Linked DNA regions of Homo sapiens: regions 1, 3 and 4 are each linked to region 2. The links are contacts of gene promoters, found by promoter capture Hi-C in human tissues and cell types (Jung and others, 2019). All regions are on one chromosome and are shown on one strand. The core of a region is centred on a gene start or on the middle of the fragment in contact, and the rest is flanking DNA. Distances in the headings are between cores, read along the strand shown. Region 1 holds the start of LINC00304 (long intergenic non-protein coding RNA 304). Region 2 holds the start of CBFA2T3 (CBFA2/RUNX1 partner transcriptional co-repressor 3). Region 3 has its middle 8.5 kb from the start of SLC22A31. Region 4 overlaps PIEZO1 (piezo type mechanosensitive ion channel component 1 (Er blood group)).

Region 1 (2,700 bases), core at 126-2,625, 180 kb after region 2:
CTGCTGCCAGCAAAGTCCCACACACAGCCTGTGGCAGGTGCCGCCCCATTCTTTCTGCCCCTCCCTCATCAGGGGCCAGGGTGAAGCCCCTGCCGCCCTCTGCCTTCCCTCCACCTGCGGCTTCCCTGGCAGGGAGACCATGGACCCAGCTCCTGCCTCCTCCATTCGTTTAACAGATAGGGCCCAGGCCAGCAGCCCAGGCATTAGGCTGGCCGGTCCACTGAGGCCTAGACAGGCCAGGCCTGAGGCAGCTCAGGAGTGCCAAGCTGGCCCCACGTTCCCACCCAACAGCGGCCCTTGGGGCTGCCTTCCTGCCAGGTGTCCAGGCCCAACACACAAGACCTGAGCCTGCTCTGCCTCAGTTTCCCTACTCTGTGAACTGCGGCTGCTGCTCTCTCGGGGCCCTTCTAGCCCTGGCCAAGGGGTGGGGGCTTTGTTCCCTCGGGCGTCCTGTCCCTGGGGACTGGCCACACACACACCACACACTGCCCTCCCACCTGGACTCTGTCCCAGCGGCACCAGGGTCAGGAGCAGGAGCCTCAGGACCCACGCAGCACCAGGCACAGCACGGAGTGAGGCAGTGGGCGGTGTGGCAAGCGCTGTGTGCACCACTAACCTGGAGGAGCCACGGCTCCCGGACCCTCGTGTCAAAGCTGCCGGCCTCCTTTGCTGGGAGCCTGAGAGGAGGTCCTGGTGCAGAACAGCAGCTTGTTGCCAGCCACAGTGAGAAGGTGGTGAGTGTGCCAGCCACTGAGTTAACCATCAGTAACAGGAGGCGTGTGCAGACAGGTGTGGACCACAGGTATGTATGTCACATGCCTGCATACGTCACATGTATGTGTATCTCACACGCCTGCATACACCACAGGTATGTATGTCACACGCCTGCATATGTCACATGTATGTGTCTCACGCCTGCATAAGTCACATGCATGTGTGTCTCACGCCTGCATACACCACAGGTATGTATGTCTCACGCCTGCATGTCACATGTATGTATCTCACACGCCTGCATGTCACATGTATGTGTATCTCACATGCCTGCATATGTCACATGTATGTGTATCTCACACGCCTGCATACACCACAGGTATGTATGTCTCACGCCTGCATATGTCACATGTATGTGTGTCTCACACGCCTGCATAAGTCACATGCATGTGTGTCTCACACGCCTGCATACACCACAGGTATGTAAGTCACACGCCTGCATGTCACATGTGTCTCACACGCCTACATGTGTCACATGTATGTGTATCTCACACGCCTGCATACACCACAGGGATGTATGTCTCACGCCTGCATATGTCACATGTATGTGTATCTCACATGCCTGCATGTCACATGTATGTGTCTCACACGCCTGCATACACCACAGGTATGCATGTCTCACGCCTGCATATGTCACATGTATGTGTATCTCACACGCCTGCATGTCACACGTATATGTCACACGCCTGCATATGTCACATGTATGTGTATCACACACCTGCATACACCACAGGTATGTATGTCACGCCTGCATATGTCACATGTATGTGTGTCTCACACGCCTGCATATGTCACATGTATGTGTCTCACACGCCTGCATAAGTCACATGTATGTGTCTCACACCTGCATACACCACAGGTATGTATGTCTCACGCCTGCATATGTCACATGTATGTGTATCTCACACGCCTGCATATGTCACATGTATGTGTATCTCACACGCCTGCATACACCACAGGTATGTATGTCTCACGCCTGCATATGTCACATGTATGTGTATCTCACACGCCTGCATACACCACAGGTATGTATGTCTCACACACGCCTGCATATATCACATGTATATGTGTCACACATGCCTGCATACACCACATGTATGTCACACACATCTGCATATATCACTTGTATGTGTCTCACACACCTGCATACACATATATGCCTCACACGCCTGCATCTATCATGTGTGTGTCTCACACACCTGCATATATCACATGTATGTGTCTCACAGCTGCATACACCACAGGTATGTGTCTCACACACGCCTGCATATATCACATGTATGTGTATCTCACACGCCTGCATATGTCACATGTATGTGTATCTCACACGCCTGCGTATATCACATGTATGTGTGTGTCACACACACACCTGCATACATACAGGCACATGGACACCTGTGTGCACACCAGTCCCTCCCTTCCCCGTCACCATCAGGTTCAGCCGGGCCTGTGGTCACTGCTTCCCCGAGGCAGCTGCAATGGGGCCCCGGCTCCCCCTACATGGTGCGTCTGATCAGGTTGGGACTCGCTCAGGTAGCTCTCATCACAAGGTCCTTGTGCACTGTTGCGGCTGCTCTTGGTGGCCCTTCTAGAGCCTTCCTGAGCCAGAGCAGACTCCTGCTCCCCCCAGACCCCCTGGGAGTCGATTCTGTCCCCTTCTTCCTGGCCGCAGGTCGGTGCAGCCGCTTTCCTGCCTGGAAGAGTAAAGTGGACCCTGTGTGAAAACATTGACGACGTGGCAAATGAGCAGCAAATTGATCAATACGAATGATCACGCCCCATGTGCATCTCCTCAGCAGCCACAAGAGAGACGAGGTCACTGGAGGATAAACATCCGTGACTGCACCTCATGATCCATCACGCACGACGGCCGCAGCATCTCCTGCCAGCTGCCGGCACAGACAAGAGCACGGGATGGACGACCGCGGT
Region 2 (2,700 bases), core at 107-2,606:
GTGTCAGGGGTGCAGTCAGACCTTGGACCTGACGGCCTCAGTGAGAGCCCCGCGAGACGGGAGACTGTGAGCTCCTGAAGGTTCCGACGGCTGCTGGGAGTGTGGCCACGAGGGCCACTGGGAATCGGGGCCACCAGCCTGCAGCTGCAGCCCCCAGCGTCCGGGGATCCTTGTCCTGGGACTTCGCAGGCTCGGGTGGGGGGTATCAGCAATAGCTGGCGTCCTGCTGGACTGGACCCCTCCCCAGAGCCCGAAGCCCCCAGAAGGGCAGGCCCAGGTTCCCCGTAAACCCCCACTGCCCTGGCTGGAATCGTTCCTCGGACAGGGGCCCAGGGTTGGGTCCATTTCCTCCTCACCGGGGTCTTGGGCCAGTGCCCTCCCCTCTGGCCTCAGTTTCCTCATCCAACCTGCTGTGAGGTGTCACACCCGGAGGGCATCCCAGGAGGAGGAGGGCTCTCTTTCTAGGACCCCCCCATCACTTCCCGGCTGCGGCCCTCCCACCCCCAGGAGAACACAGCCCACCCTCCTAGACGGGGCTGAGCAGCCCGGCCTCCAGCATCTGCCTCTGGGTGGGGCTGGGGCACCTGGCTGGCACCTGCCAAACCCTCACCAGCCCACCTGCCCCAGCTGTGCAGGACCTGCCTGTGGGGTGGCCCTGTTGATATCTGAGGTGAGTCAACACGGCCATCCGTGCCGGCACTGTCAACTAAGCTGGGCAGGCCCCGCGAAGCTCTAAGGAGTCACAGCCCCGGCACCGGCTGCCGCTCTCTGCCCCCACCCCACCACCTTCCCCTCGAGCCTCTTACCTGGGCCGCCCTTCCTGGGACCCCGGGGTGCGGAGCAGCCGGCAGATGCCAGGAGGCCGCTCTCCAGCACAGGGTGCGTCTGGGACATGGAGCCACAGGTGGATCCCGAGGCTGAACTGGCTGCCCTGTCCCTCAGTCTTGAAGCCGGCATGAGGAGGGCCACCCTCAGGGGCCAACCTGGAGCCCAGGACAGGCCTCTACCAGGACTGCCTTTCCCGACCTCCTGCAGCCTTGAGGGAAAGAGGAGGGGCTGGGCCAGCTGGGGCGTCCTGGAGTTGGGCCTCTGTCCCTGGAAAGCCGAGGCCCTCCCGGCCACCAACTGGGTGTCCTCTGCCCTGGGGAGGGGGTGGGAGCCCTGGGGCTCATGTGACGCGGGGCGGGCCTGGGGCTGCAGGCTGGGGAAGGTCTCCCTGCAGCCTGCGGGTGAGGCAGCCAGCTGTGTCCCCGTGATAATGCCGGGGCCGGAGGCCTGCAGCTGCGCCCGCCACTTCCCTGACAGGAACCATCTGGGGCCCTGCCCTGCGCGGCCTTCCCTCGGGCCATTCCGGTTTGACCTTCCAACAACTTCCTCCTCCCAGGCAGCTCTGGTGACGTCCCACCCACCCTGAGCCCTACAGCGTGGCCACTGGGCATGTGTTTCCTCGGCCCCAGGGCAGGTGTGCAGGCCTGAGGGCAGCTCCATCCTGGCCCAGAGCCCTTGGCCTGTCCCGCCCACCCATCTTCCCCCCAGGGCTTGGCCCTTCCTTCAGCCTGGGGTATCTGGGGGTGTCCTCCCTCTCCGCTAGCCCTCAGTCAGCCGAGCTTTCCCCAGCACCCCTTTTAGTTTGCCCCCGCTCCAGGGGCCACCCTGCCCGTGTTCCTGTGTCTGCTGACTGTGCCCTTGAGCAAGGCGGGGCCTCTGACCAGCCTCTCCTCAGCCCCTGCTCCGGGGTTCTTGGGCACCTGACCTGTCCTCAAAGTACCTCCCGCCTGCTGGGAAGGAAACCCTCTCTCTCTGCTTGGCCTCGTGCACAGGGCTCCTGGCCCTCTGTGGAGACAGCAGGGCTCCCCCACTCTCCGGGGGTGCCTCAGAAAGACCCTCACCCCACGCCCCAGCGGCCGCCTCCGGTGAGCAGCCTGGAGTTTGCGGGGGTCGGGGGTAGGTGGCTTCTCCAGTCTGGGAAATTCCAGAAGCCACCTCAGAGCACTCTTGGGACTACTTAGACCCTAGGGAGAGTCCTAGGACCCCTTTCTAGCGGCCGTTGGGCTGAGAGAGTGAGGCACATCCCAGATGCTGGGAAAAAAAGCCACTTTCTAAAGCTCCCTGACAACTGTCAGAGGGCAGGAGCTTCCTGGGAGGGGACAGTGACCCTTCGGCCCTGCAGCCCTGGTTCGGTGGCTTTTCTGATGCCATGGCTGGAGGTTTCCCGGCCTCAGACAGGCCAGAGGTGTGGAGCCCGCAGACCCAGGGCCGGCTCACGGGCATCTGTGCTATTTTGATTTGATTTGATTTGAGTTTTAGGTCACGTTTGCACGCAGTTAATAATTCAAGCCGTGCAGGAGTAAAAGCCGACTCCTTCCCCGCAGGGTCTCCAGGTGTCCCGGGTCTCCCTGTCCCAATAGTCGAGTGTCTTTCTCGAGTTGGTGACAACAAGCTGCATGCCAGCGTGTGTGTCCAGCTTACAGTGGGGATGTGTTTGTTCCTGCTGGGGAACTTCCCAGACGCCAGGCCCACCCGGGGCCTCCCCTGCCCTGGGTGGTCGGCCGTTCTGCCCCCAGGACTGAGGCTGGAGGGGACATTCCTGCCAGCCCGGGGCCCATCCCCTGGTGCCATCATTCGGTCCCCACGTCCCCTGCTGTTCCCTGTGCTCTGGCTCAGGGTGGGATTCACAGTGAGGGTCCTGGGGGCCCTGAC
Region 3 (2,700 bases), core at 11-2,510, 230 kb after region 2:
GGTTCAAGCAGTTCTCCTGCCTCAGCTTCCCGAGTAGCTGGGACTATAGACGTGTGCCACCATGCCTAACTAATTTTCTTGTATTTTTAGTAGAAATGGGGTTTCACCATGTTGGCCAGGCTGGCTTTGAACTCCTGACCTCGCATGATCCGCCCGTCTCGGCCTCCCCCAGTGCTGGGATCACAGGTGTGGGCACGGTGCCCACCAGGGCTTTTCTTTATCAGAATTTTGACTAGTGATTCTACTTCCATACTACTTACAGGTCCACTCAGATTTCTAACTTCTTCCTGATTTAGTCTTGGTATGTTTAGCGTGTCTGGGAATGTGTTCATTTCATCTGGGTTATACAATTTGTGTACGACTTTTTTCATAACACTCTCTTGCGGTCTTTTTATTTCTGTAGAATCAGTGGTAATGTCCCCACTTGGATTTCTACTATTGGTAACTTGAGTGTTCTCTTTTTTCTTAGTCCATTTAGCAAAAAGTTTGTCAATTTTGTTGATCTTTGCAAAAAATCAACTTTTGGTTTCATCCTCTATTTTTCATTTCTGTTATTTTTGTTCTAATCTTTTATTATTTTCTTATTTCTACTAGCTTTGGGTTTAGGTTGTTCCTTTCTGGTTGTTTAAGTTGATTTGAGATATTTCTGTTTTTGTTTTTTTTTGTTTTGTCTTGAGATGGAGTCTCGCTCTGTCACCCAGGCTGGAGTGCAGTGGCGTGATCTCGGCTCACTGTAACCTCTGCCTCCTGGGTTCAAGTGATTCTCTTGCCTCAGCCTCCCAAGTAGCTGGGATTACAGGCGTGCTCCACCACGCCCAGCTAATTTTCGTATTTTTAGTAGAGATGGGGTTTTACCATCTTGGCCAGGCTGGTCTTGAACTCCTGACCTTGTGATCTGCCCACCTCGGCCTCCTGAAGTGCTGGGATTACAGGCGTGAGCCACCGAACACCCAGGCAAGCAAATCTCTTGAACCTGGGAGGCGGAGGCTGCAGTGAGCCAAGATCACGCCAGTACACTCCAAACTGGGCAACAGTGCGAGACTTGGTCTCAAAAAATAAAATAAAGAGGTTACTTATTATTTATTTATTTATTTATTTATTTATTTATTTATTTATTTATTTATTTATTTTTGAGATGGAGTCTCGCTCTGTCGCCAGGCTGGAGTGCGGTGGCACTATCTCAGCTCACTGCAAGCTCCGCCTGCCGGGTTCGTGCCATTCTCCTGCCTCAGCCTCCCGAGTAGCTGGGACTACAGGCGCCTGCCACCACGCCGGGCTAATTTTTTGTATTTTGTACTAGAGACAGGGGTCTCACTGTGTTAGCCAGGATGGTCTCGATCTCCTGACCTCGTGATCCGCCCTCCTTGGCCTCCCAAAGTGCTGGGATTACAGGCGTGAGCCACCGCGCCCGGCCAATAACCTCTTTAATTTGTGTGTCATTAAATATGGGTAAATACAGCTGCCAGCAGCCTCCAAGTGGCTGCTCTGGGTGCCCTGCCTGTTGATTGGACTTGCTCTGCAAGGAGCAGCCACTCTCTGTACATGGAGCAGCCACTCTCTGTGCATGGAGCAGCCACTCTCTGTACATGGAGCAGCCACTCTCTGTGCATGGAGCAGCCACTCTCTGTACATGGAGCAGCCACTCTCTGTACATGGAGCAGCCACTCTCTGTGCATGGAGCAGCCACTCTCTGTACATGGAGCAGCCACTCTCTGTGCATGGCTGCTCAGTAAAGCCGCCTCTTCCACCGCTGCCTCGCCCTCGCATACTTTCTGGGGTGAAGTCAAGGACCCTCCTGGGCCAAGCTGCAATTTTGGGGCTCAGCTGCCCTACATCACCTTGGCGGCCACAAAGGGATGAAGAGAAGACAGTGAGAGGCAGAGAGGCGGTGATTGGCAGGGCAGCAAATGACGCAAGGTGGCGGGTCAGTGAGAGACAGTGACCAGTGCCATGGCCATCAAAGCTGCAAATATCACGGCTGGGACAGTGGAACGCTGTGACACTGCAGACCTGTGACACTAGCCACAGGCTCTTTCAGGGGCCATCGTCTTTCCTGACAGGTGGCGGAGCCGAGTGGACAGGCAAGTAGCCACAGCACCACCTCGTGTGAGACCCACTGCTCCGATCGGCTGGTTGCAGAACCACACGCTGCTCCCCTCCTAATGGCTGAACCCCTCCAAACCAGGGAGACCTGGGGGAGACCGGGCAGTGCCATTTTGGCTCCTGTGGACAGGTAAGTGTCCCTGCTGTGTGTTCTGCCAATATTGGGTGAGCCAGGATCACCCCCGCCCTTCCTTATTTGCTGCTCTGAGATCCCCTTCCCTGCCTCACCCTGTATTCCACACCCATTAGAGCAAACAAAGTTTAGCCAGGTAGAGAGGTCCCAATTTTGTAAATAACTTGGATCCAGCTCTCTTATTTAGGTTGCTTTGCTTATGTGATGTGTGTTATGTCTAGCATGCTATCAGATTGGCTGATAAATAAAAGGGCACCCATAAACTAAACAAATGAACGAAAGAAATAAGACCACACACCCAAAGAAGATCAAGTACCATGGCCACATGCCATGGCGATGACCGAAAGTGACCTTACATGGTTCTGGAAACTCCAGAAACTCTAGAAAGTTCTAAAAAGTCCCTTAATTTGCATATAATTAAAAGTGGGTGTAAATACAGCTGCTGGCCAGGTGCGGTGGCTCAC
Region 4 (2,700 bases), core at 98-2,597, 220 kb before region 2:
GAGGCCGAGGCGGGAAGATGGCTCAAGCCCGCCATCTCATGGTCAGGAGTTCGAAACCAGCCTGGCCAACATGGTGAAACCCCATCTCTACTAAAAATACAAAATGTATCTGGGTGTGGTGGTGGGTGCCTGTAGTCCCAGCTACTTGGGAGGCTGAGGCAAGAGAATCGCTTGAACCTGGGAGGTGGAGGTTGCAGTGAGCTGAGATTATGTCACTGCACTCCAGCCTGGGCAATAGAGCAAGATTCCGTCTCAAAAAACAATAAAAATAAAAACAAACAAGCCAGGTGCAGTGGCTCATGCCTGTAATCCCAGCACTTTGGGAGGCCGAGGCGGGCAGATCAGAAGGTCAGGAGATCGAGACCATCCTGGCCAACATGGTGAAACCCTGTCTCTACTAAAAATACAAAAAAGTAGCCGGGTGTGGTGGCGGGCACCTGTAGTCCCAGCTACTTGGGGGGCTGAGGCAGGAGAATGGCGTGAACCCAGGAGATGGAGCTTGCAGTGAGCCGAGATCAGGACACTGCACTCCAGCCTGGGCGACAGAGCGAGACTCCGTCTCAAAACAAACAAAAAATGGGTGGCTGGGGAGCCGCACTGGCCCTCGGTCCCTGGGGAAGGGAAGGGCTGAGGCAGGCAGATGGCAATCCAGGTTTAGACTCCAGGTTAGACCACCTGGAGGCTGAGCCCTCGGAGCCGGGGGCTGGAAGACGCGATGCATTGAGGTTAGGAGGAGGGACCTCGAGAGAGCTGGCAGCGCAGCAGCACCTGGTGCAGGCCCTGGGTATGCAGGGGGCGTTGCTGGCGGGGGGGTGGGGGGTAGTTACCTAACCTGCCTGCTTTCCCGTGTGGTTAAAAGGCTCCAATGACAGTGCCTGAGAGTGTGTGGACACTGGCAGCCTGTGAGAGCAGGGGCGGGTGGGAACAGGTCTCCAAAAGGACTGACGGGGCCTAGGAGACAGGAGAGGGACAGGTGCTTGAACAAGGGCTGGGGGCCAAGACGGGGGAAAGAGCTTCTCAAAGGAAGTGGAGCCAATGGGCTGGACTGAGATCCCATCTCCACCTTCTCCAGGGCTTCCACACCCAGGAAGGAGAGCCCATGGGTTGAAGCTTCGTCACCTGGGAAGCAGGAGAGCCCGAGGGTTGGAGTCCATGACCTGGGGGTTCCTGGCCCTGAAGGAGCCAGGCTGCGGGCCGGAGCTGGGCCAGCTGCCATGGCTGGAGGCATCACTCTCCTTGGGTCCTCCCAACAACCTAAGGGTGGCACCATCCCACCCCACAGACAGGCGAACTGAGCCCAGCATGGCCCAGCAAGAGACTCAAGTCACAGGCAGACTCCCCCAGCAGCCTCAGCTCCAGCAGATGCCCCAGGAGGCAGGAAGGGTCTGGGCCAGTTATCACAGATTTCACAGACTCCAGCCAGCCTCAGAAGGTGCCACAGAAAGGCCTGGCTGGACACCCCTCCGCCACCCTCTGTGCCTCTACTTCTCTGCCCTGACCTAACTGGCAGAGAGGATATAGGGCTAGACGAATAGGCCCTCCGGGGTTGGGGACAGAGCAGCTGAATCCTGGGAGGAATCCCCAGGAGCCTCCTCAGCCCTGTGGTCCCACTATTTCAAGCATGGGTGGGTTCCTGGAAGCGGCTGCCCGGACTCTCCTCCCACAAGGAGATGGCCATTGAGGAGCAACAGCCCTCTCAGCCCAAGTCCTTGTGCACCGAGACCAACTGTGTGGCCCTCAGTCTGGCATTCAAGGCTCCCACCACTCTGGGTTAAGTGTCAGCTGACCCTGTGGGCTTCCTGCCACTCCCTGACAGACCAACATCGTGCTGCATCCCAGCCTTGGCCCCAGCAGTGGCCTGGCCTGGGGGCAACCCTGGCTTCTGTGAGCTCTGTCCCCACCCATCGTCACTCAGCCATCCCCAGGGCTCCTCCTGCTGTGATGCCAGTCATACCCGTGGCTCATAGCAGCTCATGCGTAACTGCTTCTCCCTGAGCCTATGACAGAGGCAGTGCTTGGAAATGCAAACCCACTGCCCCCACTCCACAGGCACCCACGGACTCACAAGACACAGCAGATGCAGGAACAGCCTCGGCACCCACCTGCAGAGCAGGCCAAGCGGCAGGGGGTGCGGCAGAACCCTGTGGGTCGTGTCTGTATGTGCCCTGCAGAATGACACCACTGGGCTCTGGCCCTGACCTCTCACAACTGCTGAGATGACCACAGATGAGCCCAATCTCCTCTGTCTTAGTTTGTTCGTCTATAAATCAAGAACCATAACTCCCTCCTCACAGGATTGTCGCAGAGACAACAGTGCCTGACACATAGCATGAGAGAGCAAACATGCACCAATCCCTGTGGCACTGCCAAGTGATACAAGCCACAGAGAGTCAGACGCCTACCATTCCTTTTGTGTAAAACTGAAATTCCACATGTCTAGGATGGACAAAAAGGCTGAGGAAGATCCACACCAAGCTGTTGCGTCTGCTCCTGCAGAAGAGGTCCTTGGTCCCCCCTACCCACGGCATTTCCCTTTTTTACAAGGGGAATGTTTTCATGCGTTGCTGGAGTTATCAACAAGTGAACTGGTCAAAAAGGAAAAGGACTGGAGGAAACAGACAGAAGCAGGGCAGGTCGCTTGGTCCAACCTTCCTCTCATCAAAGGAAACAGAAGCTGGGAAGGACATCAGTCGTCTGAGT

Evidence for each region. The method cuts DNA at HindIII sites, captures the fragments that hold promoters and counts their contacts. A contact is called where the count stands out against the background at its distance.
Region 1: a fragment that was not itself captured here is called in contact with the fragment with the promoter of CBFA2T3 in region 2 in 3 of the 25 tissues and cell types used here (IMR-90 fibroblasts, hippocampus and spleen).
Region 3: a contact is called between a fragment that was not itself captured here and the fragment with the promoter of CBFA2T3 in region 2, in 2 of the 25 tissues and cell types used here (lymphoblastoid cells and spleen).
Region 4: a fragment that was not itself captured here is called in contact with the fragment with the promoter of CBFA2T3 in region 2 in 3 of the 25 tissues and cell types used here (H1 embryonic stem cells, dorsolateral prefrontal cortex and lymphoblastoid cells).

Annotation. Positions count from the first base shown.
Region 1 is chr16:89,156,649-89,159,348 of GRCh38, forward strand. LINC00304 (long intergenic non-protein coding RNA 304) reads left to right here and starts at 2,572. Exons shown (of 4, transcript NR_024347.2): 1 at 2,572-2,700. RefSeq lists an enhancer at 2,468-2,637. The HindIII fragment of the contact is 4,775 bases long and covers 1-2,700 here.
Region 2 is chr16:88,975,851-88,978,550 of GRCh38, forward strand. It overlaps CBFA2T3 (CBFA2/RUNX1 partner transcriptional co-repressor 3), which reads right to left and starts at 1,357. Exons shown (of 12, transcript NM_005187.6): 1 at 807-1,357. The coding sequence starts at 957. RefSeq lists enhancers at 1-26, 1,729-1,778. The HindIII fragment of the contact is 13,654 bases long and covers 1-2,700 here.
Region 3 is chr16:89,207,687-89,210,386 of GRCh38, forward strand. No RefSeq gene overlaps it. Among named protein-coding and RNA genes, the nearest start is that of SLC22A31, 8.5 kb to the left of the region's middle. The HindIII fragment of the contact is 6,212 bases long and covers 1-2,700 here.
Region 4 is chr16:88,756,514-88,759,213 of GRCh38, forward strand. The region is part of intron 1 of PIEZO1 (piezo type mechanosensitive ion channel component 1 (Er blood group)); the gene reads right to left. Among named protein-coding and RNA genes, the nearest start is that of PIEZO1-AS1, 15 kb to the left of the region's middle. The HindIII fragment of the contact is 9,363 bases long and covers 1-2,700 here.